Linked DNA regions of Homo sapiens: all the other regions are linked to region 4. The links are contacts of gene promoters, found by promoter capture Hi-C in human tissues and cell types (Jung and others, 2019). All regions are on one chromosome and are shown on one strand. Each heading gives the region's core, a stretch centred on a gene start or on the middle of the fragment in contact. The rest is flanking DNA. Distances are from core to core; before and after follow the strand shown.

Region 1 (3,368 bases), core at 280-2,779, 510 kb after region 4:
CAAAGAGATCTAAGGAAGCTCTATGCTGTGGCCTTAGATATCTAGGCTATGAACCCAGGGAGTCTTGCCCCTGGTGTCCCTCCCAATTTAGGTATATAGCTGTCAACATGGGCTGTTATGTGGGACCCATTCCCCACCACCCTTGCCAGGGCCCCAAGTTTGTAAATAGCTAGGAAGATCGCTCTCCCATTGTGTAAGATGCTCTCCTCCCCTAATTTCTACCCAGTTTACTACCCCCTGCAATACAATCTCCAAGCCTTGGCTCCTTGGCCAGGCCCTTAGAACTGATAACCCAGTATTTTAACAACTGGAACTGAGTCTACAACAACATAATAGATCAGGATGAAAACGAATTTGAGTAAATTAAAGGGAGGCACATGTTCCTATAGTGGCAAACTGGGGCAACAAGTGAACGTCCTTCCACTGCGTTTCCAAAATCCATCTAAAAAAAGACAGACAGAGAGAGGAAGAGGCAGAAAGTCAAAGAGAGAAAGAAAGAAAAAAGGGAAAGAGAGAGGTAGTAAAGAAAAAACAGTGTACCCTATTCCTTTAAAAGCCAAGGTAAATTTAGAACCTATAATTGATAATTAAAGGTCTTCTCCACGACCCTATAATACTCCAATACTACCTTGTTGTCAGTGTAAACAAGGGCGTAGCCCGAAAACACTGAGACCACTGACAACCCATAGCCTTCCTATCAAAAATCCTGAACCCAGTAACCCGTGGATGGCCCAAATGCATTCAATCTGTAGTGGCAACTGCTTTGCTAACAGAATAAAGTAGAAAAATAACCTTTAGAGGAAACCTCATTGTGAGCACACCTCACCAGTTCAGAACAATCCTAAGACCAAAAAAAAAAAAAAAAAAAGGTAGCTTACTAGCTCAAAATTCTTAAAGTATGGGGCTATTCTGTTAGAAAAAGGTGATTTAACACCAACCACTGATAATTCCCTTAACCCAGCAGATTTCCTAACAGGGGATTTAAATCTTAATTGCCATGCAAAGGTCCAACCAGACCTAGGAGGAACTTCCTTTAGGATAGGACGATAGATGGTTCCTCCCAGGCGATTGAGGAAAAAACCACAATGGGTATTCAGTAATTGATAAGGAAACTCTTGTGGAAGCAGAGTTAGGAGAATTGCCTCATAATTGGTCTGCACAAACTGCGAGCTGTTTGCACTCAGCCAAGCCTTAAAGTACTTACAAAAAGAGCAAGCCCATCTTTTTCTCCTCGCTCTCCTTCTCGTAGGAAAAAGGCACATAGGATAAACAGGAGCCATCTCTCATATTTCGTACCCAAAAGGACTTAATCCAGGGCAACAAAATCTTAAGTTCGATAATTAAGGCATATTCCTACAAAGGAAAAGGACAAAGGCCCTAGTGGGCAAAAACTCTATCTCAATCCTGACTCAAAAGGTTACCTACACCCTCTCTGAAACGAATTTGCATAAGAACTGTTGTTTATGAAAATGCATCTTGATGGGGCAACTGGGTTGTTATGAAATACTCAGAAACCCAGCCCAGCTCTAGAACTCACTCCTGAGTGCAAAGGCAATGTCAGGCACGCTGGTAAAGGACCACTAGAATCCAGCAGCCCAGACCCCTTTCTTTGTGGTCAAGAAGGGCAGGAAAACAGGTGCAGGACTGCTACATCGGTGAGTGTAACTAATCTGATAAGCAGAGGTCCGTGGGTGGTTACGCACCCTGAAAAGGAATAAGCATTAGGACCACAGAGGACGCTCTAGGACTAATGCTCATCAGAAAATGACTAGGGGTGCTGGCATCCCTATGTTCTTTTTAAACGTTCCCCCCTCCCAGGCAAAAACGCCCCTAAGATGTATTCTAGAGAATTAGGACCAATTTGACCCTCAGATGCTAAGAAAGAAACGACTTATATTCTTCTGCAGTACCCCTGGCCACAATATCCTCTTCAAGAGGGAGAAACATGCCCTCCAAGGGAAGTATAAATTATAACACCATCTTACAGCTAGACTTCTTTTGTAGAAAATAGGGCAAATGGAGCGAAGTGCCATATGTGCAAACTTTCTTTTCATTAAGAGACAACTCACAATTATGTTAAAAGTGTGATTTATGCCCTACAGGAAGCCCTCAGAATCTACCCCCCTGCCCCGGCGTTCCCCCGGCTCCTTCCCCAACTAATAATGACCCCCCTTCAACACAAACGGTGCCAAAGGAGATAGAGAAAGGGGTAAACAATGAACCAAAGAGTGCCAATATTCCCAGATTATGCCCCCTTGAAGTGGTGGGAGGAGGAGAATTCAGCCCAGAGTGTGTGTACCTTTTTCCCTCTCAGACTTGAAGCAAATTAAAATAGACCTAGGTAAATTCTCAAATAACCCTGATGGCTATATTGATGTTTTACAAGGGTTAGGACAATCCTTTGATCTGACATGGAGAGACATAATGTTACTGCTAGATCAGATACTAACCCCAAATGAGAGAAGTGCCGCTATAACTGCAGCCCAAGAGTTTGGCAATCTCTGGTATCTCAGTCAGGTCAATGATAGGATGACAACAGAGGAAAGAGAACGATTCCCCACAGGCCAGCAGGCAGTTCCCAGTGTAGACCCTCAATGGGACGCAGAATCAGAATGTGGAGATTGGTGCCGCAGACATTTGCTAACTTGCATGCTAGAAGGACTAAGAAAAACTAGGAAGAAGCCTATGAATTATTCAATGATGCCCACTATAACACAGGGAAAGGAAGAAAATCCTACTGCCTTTCTGGAGAGACTAAGGGAGGCATTGAGGAAGCATACCTCTCTGTCATCTGGATCTATTGAAGGCCAACTAATCTTAAAGGGTAAGTTTATCACTCAGCTGCAGACATTAGAAAAAAACTTCAAAATCCGCCTTAGGCCTGGAACAAAACTTAAACTAAGAACTTGGCCTCAGTTTTTATAATAGAGATCAGAAGGAGCAGGCAGAACTGGACAAACGGGATAAAAAGAAGGCCACCGCTTTAGTCATGGCCTTCAGGCAAGTGGACTTTGGAGGCTCTGGAAAAGTGAAAGGCTGGGCAAATCGAATGCCTAATAGGGATTTGATTCCAGTGCGGTCTACAAGGACACTTTAAAAAAGATTGTCCGAATAGAAATAAGCCACCCCCTCATCCATGCCCCTTATTTCAAGGGTATCACTGGAAGGCCCACTGCCCCAGGGGATGAAGGTCCTCTGAGTCAGAAGCCACTAACCAGATGATCCAGCAGCAGGACTGAGGGTGCCTGGGGCAAGCGCCAGCCCCTGGCATCACCCTCCCCAGGTATGCTTGACCACTGAGGGCCAGGAGGTTAACTGTCTGCTGGACACTAGCGCGGCCTTCTCAGTCTTACTCTCCTGTCCCAGAC
Region 2 (3,503 bases), core at 656-3,155, 610 kb after region 4:
CTCTGCCTCCAAGGTTCAAGCAATTCTTGCGCCTCAGCCTCAGAGTAGCTGGGATTACAGGTGTACGGCACCACACCCAGCTTATTTTATTTTATTTTATTTTTAAAGTAGAGATGGGGTGTTGCCATGTTGACCAGGCTGGTCTTGAACTCCTGGGCTCAAGAGATCCTCCTGCCTTGGCCTCCCAAAGTGCTGGGATTACAGGCGTGAGCCACTGCACTCAGCCAAAATTCAAATTTCAATGTCTATAAAGAAAGTTTTATTGGAACACGGCAATGCTCATTCGTTTACCTATGGTCTTTGGCTGCTTTCACACAACAGCAGACCACTAGTCGTAACAAAGACCGTGTGGCCTACAAAGCCTGAAACATTTACCACCTGGCCCTTAAAAGAAAACGTTTGCAAGACCAGGTGCAGTGGCTCACGCCTATAATCCTAGCACTTTGGGAGACCGAGGCGGGAGGATCCCTTGAGCCCAGGAGTTGGAGACCAGCCTGGGCAACATAGGGAGACCCTGTTTCTAAAAAAACCAAACAGAAAAAAATTTGCCCAGCCCTGTTCTAGACTGTTCCTGTTGTTACATCCAAAGTCATTTGGGGCCGGGTGTGGTAGCTCCCACCTGTAATCCCAACACTTTGGGAGGCCGAGGCAGGTGGATCATCTGGGGTCAGGAGTTCAAGACCGGCCTGGCCAACATGATGAAACCCCGCCTCTACTAAAAATACAAAAAAATAGCCGGGCGTGGTGGCGTGTCCCTGTAATTCCAGCCGCTTGGTAGGCTGAGGCAGGAGAATCGCTGGAACCTGGGAGAAAGAGGTTGCAGTGAGCAGAGATCGCCCACTGCACTCCAGCCTGGGCTACAGAGCAAGACTCTGTCTCCAAAAAAAAAGTCTTTTGGGCCGGGTGGGGTGGCTAACACCTGTAATCCCAACATTGTGGGAGGCCAAGGTGGGTGGATTGCTTGAGGCCAGGAGTTCGAGACCAGCCTGGCAAATATGGCGAAATCCCCTCTCTACTAAAAATACAACAGCCGGGGTGGTGAGGCGCCGCCTGTAATCCCAGCTACTCCGGAAGCTGAGGCACGAGAATCACTTGAGCCTGGGAAAGCGGAGGCTGCAGTGAGCCTAGATCCCGCCACTGCACTCCGGACCGACTCAAAAAATATAAAAATATAATATACTCCGGGCGCGGTGGCTCACGCCTGTAATCCCAGCACTTTGGGAGGCCGAGGTGGGCGGATCACGAGGTCTGGAGTTCAAAACCAGCCTGGCCAACATGGTGAAATCCCCGTCTCTACTAAAAATACAAAAATTAGCCAGGCGTGGTGGAGGGCGCCTGTAATCCCAGCTGCTCGGCAGGCTGAGGCAGAGAACTGCTTGAACCCGGGAGACGGAGATTGCAGTGAACGGAGATCGCGCCACTGCACTCCAGCCTGGGCGACAGAGCGAGACTCCGTCTCAAAATAAATATGATATAATATAATAATACAAAATGCTGTTCTTCAGTTGCACTCCACACATCTCAAATGCTCAGCAGCCATTTATGGCCAATGACTGCCGGAGTGCACAAGTGCAGGATGCCCGGTGAAGAGTCGTGGAGTGAGCACCGTGGAGACTGTACGGGACACCTAGGGAGGAACCTGGCCCCCCAGGGGAGTAAGAGCCGCTGTAGGGGTAGTCAGCGCCTCACACAGCTCGCACCCCACGCGCATCCCTGGTGGATACGGCCGACGCCTGCGCGGCGCCTGCGGCTGGAGCACCGAATGGGGGAGGCGATCTCGCGGCCCCGACTCACCTTCCGCAGTCCAGCCCAGTAGCTGCTCCCGCGGGGCCCACATCTGCGCGCGCACGCACGCACGAAGCAAACGAGGTAGCAGCACCGTGTGTGAAACGGATTAGAATGCGCACCGCGGGCCACTGGCGGCGCCAGAAGAAAGAAGCAGGACTGGGTGAAGTGCGTCACCGCGCGGCGCGCAGCCTGCCGGGAAGCGTAGTTCTCGGGGCGAAATGCGGCTTGTGCAGGGCGAGAGAAAATGCTGAGGCGCACTTTGACCTTCTAGGTCCCCCTCGGCCGCAATATTTGGGGTTGTGCTTACCACAGGTACCCATAAGCAAAATATAGTGTTGTTTTCCATGGTTGTAAACATTATATAAATACACTTACAATGCCTGCTACTAGCTCTTTTGCGCAGTTCTATAATGACACGTGTTGACCTGTTCATTGTGTGTTCACTGCTGTGTGGTATCTAATGTAGAAATACACCAGGACTCCAATTGGACAGACTCATGCGCATCCATGGAGAGCTTCTCAAGGACAGTGGTTCGCAAACTTGTTGTTGTTAAAATCCTTTTACACTCTTAAAAATTACTGAGGACCCCAAAGAGCTTTTGAAACCGCCTTTGCAAAATTATACCTAAGGAAATTATGATGTTATAGGAGTTATTAAGAAATTATTTTAAGCAGATAGAGAAGGAAAGGGGTCCTTGGGAAGTTTTTGTTTCTTTTAAAGCAGCTCCAGAAAGGTTTCTTGTCTAGCAGGAAAGCCTGGGCTCCTAGAGCAGGATGGCAAGCTTTGATATGGAAATACAGGCCATTAGAAACTGGACGCACCCAAACATGGCGATTCCCGCCGTCCTTTTCTTTGCCCTGACATGTGCCTGGCAACATGGCCACCCCCCACATATTCCCACGTGTGTAGAACTTCATGGAGCCCTACATTTGCATATTAAAAAGCTAGGGTGGGAGGGCCAGGTTTTTGGCTGCCACATAAATGACACATCTGATCAAACTAATCCCCTGAGCCCTATGGAAACCAGACACCGCCTCCTCCAGCATCCTCAGATAAGCAGCCACTTTTCCGCACACGGCGCTTTCTCTTTGTTGGAATCCCCGCTCCCTCTGTCTCTGTATGGGGGAGCTGTTTTCGTCTTCCTTCCTTCTTTCTTGCCTATTAAACTTTTCGCTCCTTAAAACCACTCCACGTGTGTCTGTGTTATTAAGCCTATCAGAGACCAAGGACCCTGGTGTTCCTCCAGTCATCAGAGCCTTATCAATGACAGTAAAAGATATCAGATCTAACCCACCTCATCTTCCTTTCAACCTCTAAACTGTCTTTGTCCACTTCTGGGCATAGGCCAAAGTAGCCTTGGGAAGGAATTCAGTTTATAGCTTAAATAATAGCCCTTCCCAAGGGCTAAACTGTTCTTGTAAAATGAATGAAAGGCCACCAGCCACCAAATTAGGATGAGAAGGGCTGGAATTCTAAATATTACCAGCCATTATTCCAGAGGCCCTAAGACGCACAACTTCCCCAATTACTCTTTTGAAGCACAACTTCCCCAATTACTCTTTTTTTTTTTTTAGGGAAAAGAACACGGAGTCTCACTCTGTCTACCATGCTGGAGTGCAGTGGTGCCATCTCGGCTCACTGCAACCTCCCTCTCCTGGGTTCAAGCGATTCTCCTGCCTCAACCTCCTGAGTAGCCGGGATTACAAGCACGCAC
Region 3 (3,604 bases), core at 1,085-3,584, 570 kb before region 4:
CCTTTCTGTGCCCACCCAGACTTGGTTTGGGCCACCAGAGGCTGAAGTGTATTTCCTGTGCATTCCAAGTGTTGCCTGCATGCCTGTTCTGTCTGGGCCACATTCACAGATTCAGGATTCTCAGGGGCTTACCGTGTTACTTCAGCATGAGCTCCTGGCATGGGGGTGCTCTGTCTTCGCCTGGCTGCAACTCAATTCTTCCTTCTACCCAAAAACACTCCAGTCAGTTGTACTTACTGAGAATCCCTGAGTGCCCTCTGCCCCTTCTGGCAACATGCACATTCCTGTCTTCTGCCTGCTCCCTCATGTCAGTGCAGTTGGGCTGGGCTGACCTACTAAAACCTGCTCCATGTATGGACCTGGAAGGCCATTGCTGCCATGGCACTTGGGACACTTGAGGAAGAAACAGAAACCTTATTTCTTCCTGTGTGTCCCCTAGTGGTTTTCTTTCCATTTGTGTTATGCCACAGAGAGAAATTTCCTGTCTGAACTCTTCTGCTGCCTGCCTAGGAAGGAAACCTGAAGATTTGGGCAGCCTGAGTCTCTTGGTTTCTGAGCTGGCTCCTGAATATATGTTCAAGTGGGTGTGCCCATAGGGCCTGGGCACGTGTCTCTAGCAAAACCAGGGCCTGAGCATAAGAACTGGGACCCTTCTAGGCAGGGTGCAGTGGCTCACGCCTGTAATCCCAGCACTTTGGGAGGCCCAGGCAGGCGGATCACCTGAGGTCAGGAGTTCAAGACCAGCCTGACCAACCTGGAGAAACCCCGTCTCTACTAAAAATACAAAAAATTAGCTGGGCGTGGTGGTAGGCACCTGTAATCCCAGCTACTTGGGAGGCTGAGGCAGGAGAATCTCTTGAACCCGGGAAGTGGAGGTTGCGGACCTGAGATCATGCCATTGCACTCCAGCCTGGGCAAGAAGAGCGAAACTCCATCTTAAACAAACAAACAAAAAAAAAAGAACTGGGACCCTTCTGCCATCTGACATAGCCCAAAGCACATCTCTATCCTTTCTCCCAGTTGCCCCTCTCCTTTTTTGTTGTTTTTTTTGAGGTTGAGTTTTGCTCTTGTTGCCCAGGCTGGAGTGCAATAGTGCAATCTTGGCTAACTGCAACCTCCGCCTCCCAGGTTCAAGCAATTCTCCTGCCTCAGTCTCCCGAGTAGCTGGGATTACAGTCATGCATCACCATGCCTGGCTAATTTTGTATTTGTAGTAGAGATGGGGTTTCTCCATGTTGGTCAGGCTGGTCTCAAACACCTGACCTCAGGTGATCTGCCTGCCTTGGCCTTCCAAAGTGCTGGGATTACAGGCATGAGCCACCGCGCCCGCCCTGCCCCTTTCCAAGAGATATGCTCAGCATAATGAGAGATCAACCGTGGTGGGGAGTGGGTCCAAGTAAGGGTTCTCATTGTTGCCTTTTAAGAGGCCTAAGTCCTGCATTAACTCAGTCCAACCATTAAGTGATGCAGGCTGCTCTTCCCTCATGTGAGAAAAACCTGTTTCCCTCTGGTTCTTCCTGGCTTTGCACCTGGTGGCTATTACAAAGCAGTACTGCAGTATGTCTTGGACCTGGAAAGTTGGACATGTGTGTGGCTCAACAGTTTTCTCGGGGGAGTTCAGTGACCTTTTGGTGGCCACCCTCTGTTCTCACCTGTGAGTTCTTGCAGGTGGCGACTTCATCTGCAAGGTCACTTACATAGCCCCACTCAGCTGCTTCGGAAAGCGTGACGAAGCAGTAGTCCTCAGTGTGTGTGTAAGTGAAGAGGACCTTGTGGTAGCAGGGACCATGCTTCATTCGTGGCTGTGTCCCCATCTGAGGGCCTGGTATGCAGTAAGATCAATAAATACTTGTGGAATGCATGACTGCTGGCTGCCTGTGTCTGCCTGGTGGGAGAGCTGTGGAACTAGGGGTCCACATGAGGACAGACTACTGTGGTGCTGCCTACCTGCCAGGCTGGCCCACCTTCCCCACCCCCACTTGACCTTACTCTCTTGAGGTCCTAAAGGTATGATTCAGACCTTTCAGCCCTTTCCAGAACTTTGACCCTCTGGAGACAGGGCGGTTCTGCAGGGGGCGGTCTAGCCCCTAGCTTTGTTCTGGGCAGCCCAATCAGCTCTGGATTGCCCGAGCTGCCCTGAAGAGTCAGCCGAAAGAGCTGGAGGCTTCTTCCCTGTGGTTGCGGGTTCCTGCATTCTCTGCTCTAAATCCCAGCCTGCCCTTGGGGCTGCCCACGCCCCCTTCAGATCCTTTGCTCCGGAGAGAGACCTGTCCGAGCAGAGGCCTGGACTACATCTCCCGGCGTGCCTGGCAGTGTGGTGGCCTCTGTGCGCCGTCTGCACTCGTTGCAGGCGACGATGCAGAGGGCTGTAAGTGTGGTGGCCCGTCTGGGCTTTCGCCTGCAGGCATTCCCCCCGGCCTTGTGTCGTCCACTTAGTTGCGCACAGGTGGGATAGAGGGTGCTGATCTTGGAGGGTGGGGGAGGGAAGCGGCTGGGGGCTAGGGCCCTGGTGGCACTAAGCCCAGCCGCCCACAGGAGGTGCTCCGCAGGACACCGCTCTATGACTTCCACCTGGCCCACGGCGGGAAAATGGTGGCGTTTGCGGGTTGGAGTCTGCCAGTGCAGTACCGGGACAGTCACACTGACTCGCACCTGCACACACGCCAGCACTGCTCGCTCTTTGACGTGTCTCATATGCTGCAGGTGAGCCAGGGGAGCACACTGGCCATCTGATCAGGCCTTCCTCCCTGTTTACAGTGGTCCACTCCTTGGCTTTGTTTGCTGTGAACTGGATTCCAAGGACAGCCTTCTCAGAAGAGCTAGAGGTCATGGGGGTGTCATGGATAGGTCAATGGCCCCAAGGAAATGAGCTCAGAGGGTCTCATCATCTCATCCTTCTAGCTTGCCCCCATTAAATGGTGTGCCTTAATGTCCCGGGTTTTCCAGGGCTGACACCCACTCTCATGTATTGGGCTGGATGTTGGTTTGAAAAGGGGTTATTTCAGGAAGGTGCTAGGTCCTGTCCAGTTCCCTGGCAGTCCCCCCACACAGAGTGACTGGGGGAGGTCAGGAAATCAGAAGGTGGTCCTTTGCCACGTGTAGAACCAAAAGACTGGTTAGTCACTTTGGGTGGGCTGGACTGCACTGTGGATGGCAGGGAGGATGCATCCTTGCTTAGTAGCCTTTTGGATTGTAGCTGTTGCAATGGCCTGAGGCTTTCAATCTCTTCCCCAGACCAAGATACTTGGTAGTGACCGGGTGAAGCTGATGGAGAGTCTAGTGGTTGGAGACATTGCAGAGCTAAGACCAAACCAGGTGGGCCCTTTTATTTCTGCTCTATGAGTTTTCTTAGTCATGAGCCAGCAAATGGGCTGAGTCCCTACCTCAGGCTTAGGGGCACAGAGATGAGTCAAACACAGCTTCTCAGGGCTTGCAGTCTTGGACAGAATCCCTGAGTCATTTCCAGAGACACAGACATTTGTAGGGAGGGGAATATCCCAGTCTTACTACATCAGGCTAGGAGGCCAGAAACCAAGGTTAATATGCTGCTCTCTGGCCATCCCTTCTGCTTAACCCCTCTCTATTCAACATGTGGTCCCTGGCC
Region 4 (3,399 bases), core at 266-2,765:
TGCACTCCAGCCTGGGCGACAGAGTGAGACTCCTCTCAAAAAAAAATAGGGGCCTGGCAGAACGGTCGCCCTCATTCCTTCCAGATGCCTTTTGAATGCTCTGCTGGATGGGTGGTTGGCTGAGCCGTGGGGCATCTGAGAACAAGTCAGTAGACCTTCTCCAAGAGTATGCAATAAGGACTGAGCAGGAAAAAAGTTGGAGACTGCCTGTCCCCTCACAAAGTTGATGGTCTAACATTCTTCTCAGGGTCAAGAAACTTGTCCAGGGAGACACTGCTGTTTATAATCACAGGCCTGCTTAGCCTAGAACCTGGGCTGGCCTCTTCATCAGTGGGGATGAGGGCTCCTTGCTCCCAGCTGCTCAGCTCCCAGCAGCATTGAGCTCCTGGGTGTGTGCCAAGCCTGTATGGGAGGTGATAGGGAGGATTTTAATTAATACTGAGTAATTACCAGGCGGTGTTTAAGCATCCCAAATGCCCTCAGGTTCCCAAACCTACAGCTACTCTCTTCCTGGCTAGGCCTGTAAGGAGAGGGGGACTCTGCTCTATGCCCAGTGGGCCTTTGGTTAGCACGTAGGCTGTAGACTGGACATCCCAGGAAGGTCTCCACCTTTTTCAATACCCTTCCAGTTTGGTAGGAGGAGGAGGGCAATTTGGGAAATAGTCTGGCCTCTACAGTTCACCTATACCATCTTCCCAGGGGCAAAGGATAACAATGCCTGTGGTCTGCTCAACTTCATCAAGCAGTGTTGACCTAGGGCCCAGTGTAGAATGTGGGGAGAGGAATGGGCAGACCTAGATCTGGGGACCCTGGTGAAAGTGCTCCAGGAGGAACAGGCACAGAGGTCTTTGCTGCTTTTGGCCTTATTTCCCTTTCTCACTGTACACATTTGGCTGAGTGAACTCTTTCAAATTTATTTTTCTGTCTGTGGCTCTCAAATTATGATCTCATTCAAACGCCTACTTCCTACAAGGCCTTACCCGTTTGACATCTCAGAGACCTGACAGACTCCTGAGTTATTCCACCATTCCACCTGGCAGCCAAGGTGGTCTTGACTCCACCAGGCCTTTGCTCTTGTTGTATGTTCAGATGGCTTTCCTCCAGATCTTCCCCTGGGCGGGTCCTGCTCAGGCCTCGGGGCTAGCTTGAATGTCACGCCGGAAAGTGAGCCCTCTCTTGCCCTTCATCACAGCAGAATCACACTGATGTGCTCGTATGCTTCTGCTTCTCGCTGTGTCTCTGGTGCTTAGTAAGTGCTGGCCAAAAAGAGGCTCTTGGCATCAGCTGAAAGAATAATTTAAAGGTCTTCAGGACCAGGCGAGAGGCACTAATCGGTCCCCTTCATGGGTAGACCGTTCATTACCTAATTCCCTGGATTCCCTCCGTGAGCTGGCATCAGGAACACTCCACTGTCTCGACCCCCCGACAGCCCGAGGGGGCGGGTCATCTAGTGGCGCAAGCGCACTGAGGGCCGGTGCTAAGCGGGGACGCGCACGCCCGCGGTGGCGTGCGTCACAACCAGGACGCCTGCCCCGCCCGTCCAGCTCGCCTGCCCGTCGGTCCCCGCGGCGGCGGCGGCTGCCCAGTGACAGCGGCGGCGGTGCCAGGTCGGCCGTGGTAGCGTAGGGTTGCGCGGCCCGGAAACGCAGAGCCGGCCAAAGAGCGGCGCGACGTGAGCCGGGGCCGTGCGCGAAGAGACCTCGCGGGCGCGGAGCGAAAGGCCGGCGTGAGTGAGCGCGGAGACAGTGGCCGCCGGCGGCCCAACCCGTCTATCCCTTCGGCCGCCGCCGGCATGAGCCACATCCAGATCCCGCCGGGGCTCACGGAGCTGCTGCAGGGCTACACGGTGGAGGTGCTGCGACAGCAGCCGCCTGACCTCGTCGAATTCGCAGTGGAGTACTTCACCCGCCTGCGCGAGGCCCGCGCCCCAGCCTCAGTCCTGCCCGCCGCCACCCCACGCCAGAGCCTGGGCCACCCCCCGCCAGAACCCGGCCCGGACCGTGTCGCCGACGCCAAAGGGGACAGCGAGTCGGAGGAGGACGAGGACTTGGAAGGTAGGCTGTGGGCGGGGCCCTGGGGAGTGGTGCAGGAGGTCTCCAGAGGTCTAGAGGGGTGGCAGGGAGCCAGGTGTCGCGCCGCAGCCAAGCCGACCGCAGGCTGGGATTGGGAGCTCTGTAGCCGCGTTTCTAGCGTTTCCCTGAGACACCGGCGTGAGCCCGCGTGCGCCACTTCCAAATTGAGCTCCGCGATCCTGCGAGCCCTAGAGCGCACCGAGTGATTTGTCAGATCCAGCCTTGAAGGAAACGTGCGCGCTGTCGGCCCTGCTAGAGGATCCCTCGCCTTTGCTTAAGACCCTTCACCAGTTTTGGCTTCGAAGACAACAGCGTTCTCATCCAGTGACTTGTGTTTAATTGATAGGACAGTAAGTTTGTTTGGAAATAATAATTTTTTTTGAAAAGTTACTGTGAAAACTTTTAAGCATAGACAAAAGAGGAAAGGTGAGATGAATCCCTATATGCCATCACCTACATTTAACAGTTGCGTTTGTCACAAAGTTTCATCCATACCTTTTTTCTTTCTTTGCCGAAGTGTATTAAAGCAAATCTCTCAGGTCATTTCACCTCTGCTTACTTGAGTTTGTATTTCTTCAAACATGGTCCCTGGGAATATTCCTATTTTTAAAAACTTGGCCAAAACGATTGAATCAAATTTGGTGAGAGTAAATAATTATCTTGCCGGCCGGGGCAGTGGGCCCCTATAGTCTATACCAGCTACTCTGGAGGCTGAGGAGGAAATATCGCTTGAATCCAAGAGTTCGAGACCAGCCTGGGCAAAATAGACACCCTACCTCATTTTTGAAAACGAAAAACCTGGCCGGGCGTGGTGGGTCACGCCTGTAGTCCCAGCACTTTGGGAGGCCGAGGCGGGTGGATCACCTGAGGTCAGGAGTTCGAGACCAGCCTGGCCAACATGGCGAAACCCCGTCTCTACTAAAAATACAAAAATTAGCCGGGCGTGGTGGCGGGCGTCTGTAGTCCCAGCTACTTGGGAGGCTGAGGCAGGGAGAATCGCTTGAACCTGGGAGGCGGAGGTTGCAGTGAGCCAAGATCATGCCACTGCACTCCAGCCTGGGCGACAGAGCGAACTCCGTCTCAAAAAAAAAAAAAAAGAAAAAGGAAAAACCCAGTAACTATATTCTTGTTTAGTGGGTGGGTTGTAGCTTTAAAGGAAAGGATCCCAGCAGAGACTGAGATCAGGAGAGCAGCTTCATTGGCTCTACTTGCTGTGTCAGGATTTATCATTTAGTAATAGTAAACCTTCTCCAAGAGTTTGCAATAAACTCCAAGAGTACGCAATAAGGACCGAGCAGGAAACAAGTTGGAGACTGTCCCTCCCCTC

Evidence for each region. The method cuts DNA at HindIII sites, captures the fragments that hold promoters and counts their contacts. A contact is called where the count stands out against the background at its distance.
Region 1: the fragment with the promoter of SPINK8 here is called in contact with the fragment with the promoter of PRKAR2A in region 4 in 1 of the 25 tissues and cell types used here (mesenchymal stem cells).
Region 2: the fragment with the promoter of ZNF589 here is called in contact with the fragment with the promoter of PRKAR2A in region 4 in 1 of the 25 tissues and cell types used here (liver).
Region 3: a contact is called between the fragment with the promoter of AMT here and the fragment with the promoter of PRKAR2A in region 4, in 1 of the 25 tissues and cell types used here (bladder).

What each region holds. Positions count from the first base shown.
Region 1 is chr3:48,331,822-48,335,189 of GRCh38, reverse strand. It overlaps SPINK8 (serine peptidase inhibitor Kazal type 8 (putative)), which reads left to right and starts at 1,529. Exons shown (of 8, transcript NM_001080525.3): 1 at 1,529-1,655; 2 at 2,719-2,824. RefSeq lists a silencer at 984-1,184. The HindIII fragment of the contact is 10,965 bases long and covers 1-3,368 here.
Region 2 is chr3:48,239,506-48,243,008 of GRCh38, reverse strand. It overlaps ZNF589 (zinc finger protein 589), which reads right to left and starts at 1,905. Exons shown (of 4, transcript NM_016089.3): 1 at 1,795-1,905. The coding sequence starts at 1,837. RefSeq lists enhancers at 1,736-2,030, 1,221-2,138, 2,456-2,750. The HindIII fragment of the contact is 6,944 bases long and covers 1-3,503 here.
Region 3 is chr3:49,421,203-49,424,806 of GRCh38, reverse strand. It overlaps AMT (aminomethyltransferase), which reads left to right and starts at 2,334. Exons shown (of 9, transcript NM_000481.4): 1 at 2,334-2,446; 2 at 2,536-2,703; 3 at 3,235-3,315. The coding sequence starts at 2,357. It overlaps NICN1 (nicolin 1, tubulin polyglutamylase complex subunit), which reads left to right. Exons shown (of 6, transcript NM_032316.3): 6 at 1-2,474. RefSeq lists enhancers at 1,953-2,706, 2,707-3,459. The HindIII fragment of the contact is 4,289 bases long and covers 1,537-3,604 here.
Region 4 is chr3:48,845,990-48,849,388 of GRCh38, reverse strand. It overlaps PRKAR2A (protein kinase cAMP-dependent type II regulatory subunit alpha), which reads left to right and starts at 1,515. Exons shown (of 11, transcript NM_004157.4): 1 at 1,515-2,054. The coding sequence starts at 1,793. It overlaps PRKAR2A-AS1 (PRKAR2A antisense RNA 1), which reads right to left and starts at 1,452. Exons shown (of 3, transcript NR_109997.1): 1 at 1,364-1,452; 2 at 981-1,284; 3 at 1-402. RefSeq lists a silencer at 1,373-1,702. The HindIII fragment of the contact is 13,078 bases long and covers 1-3,399 here.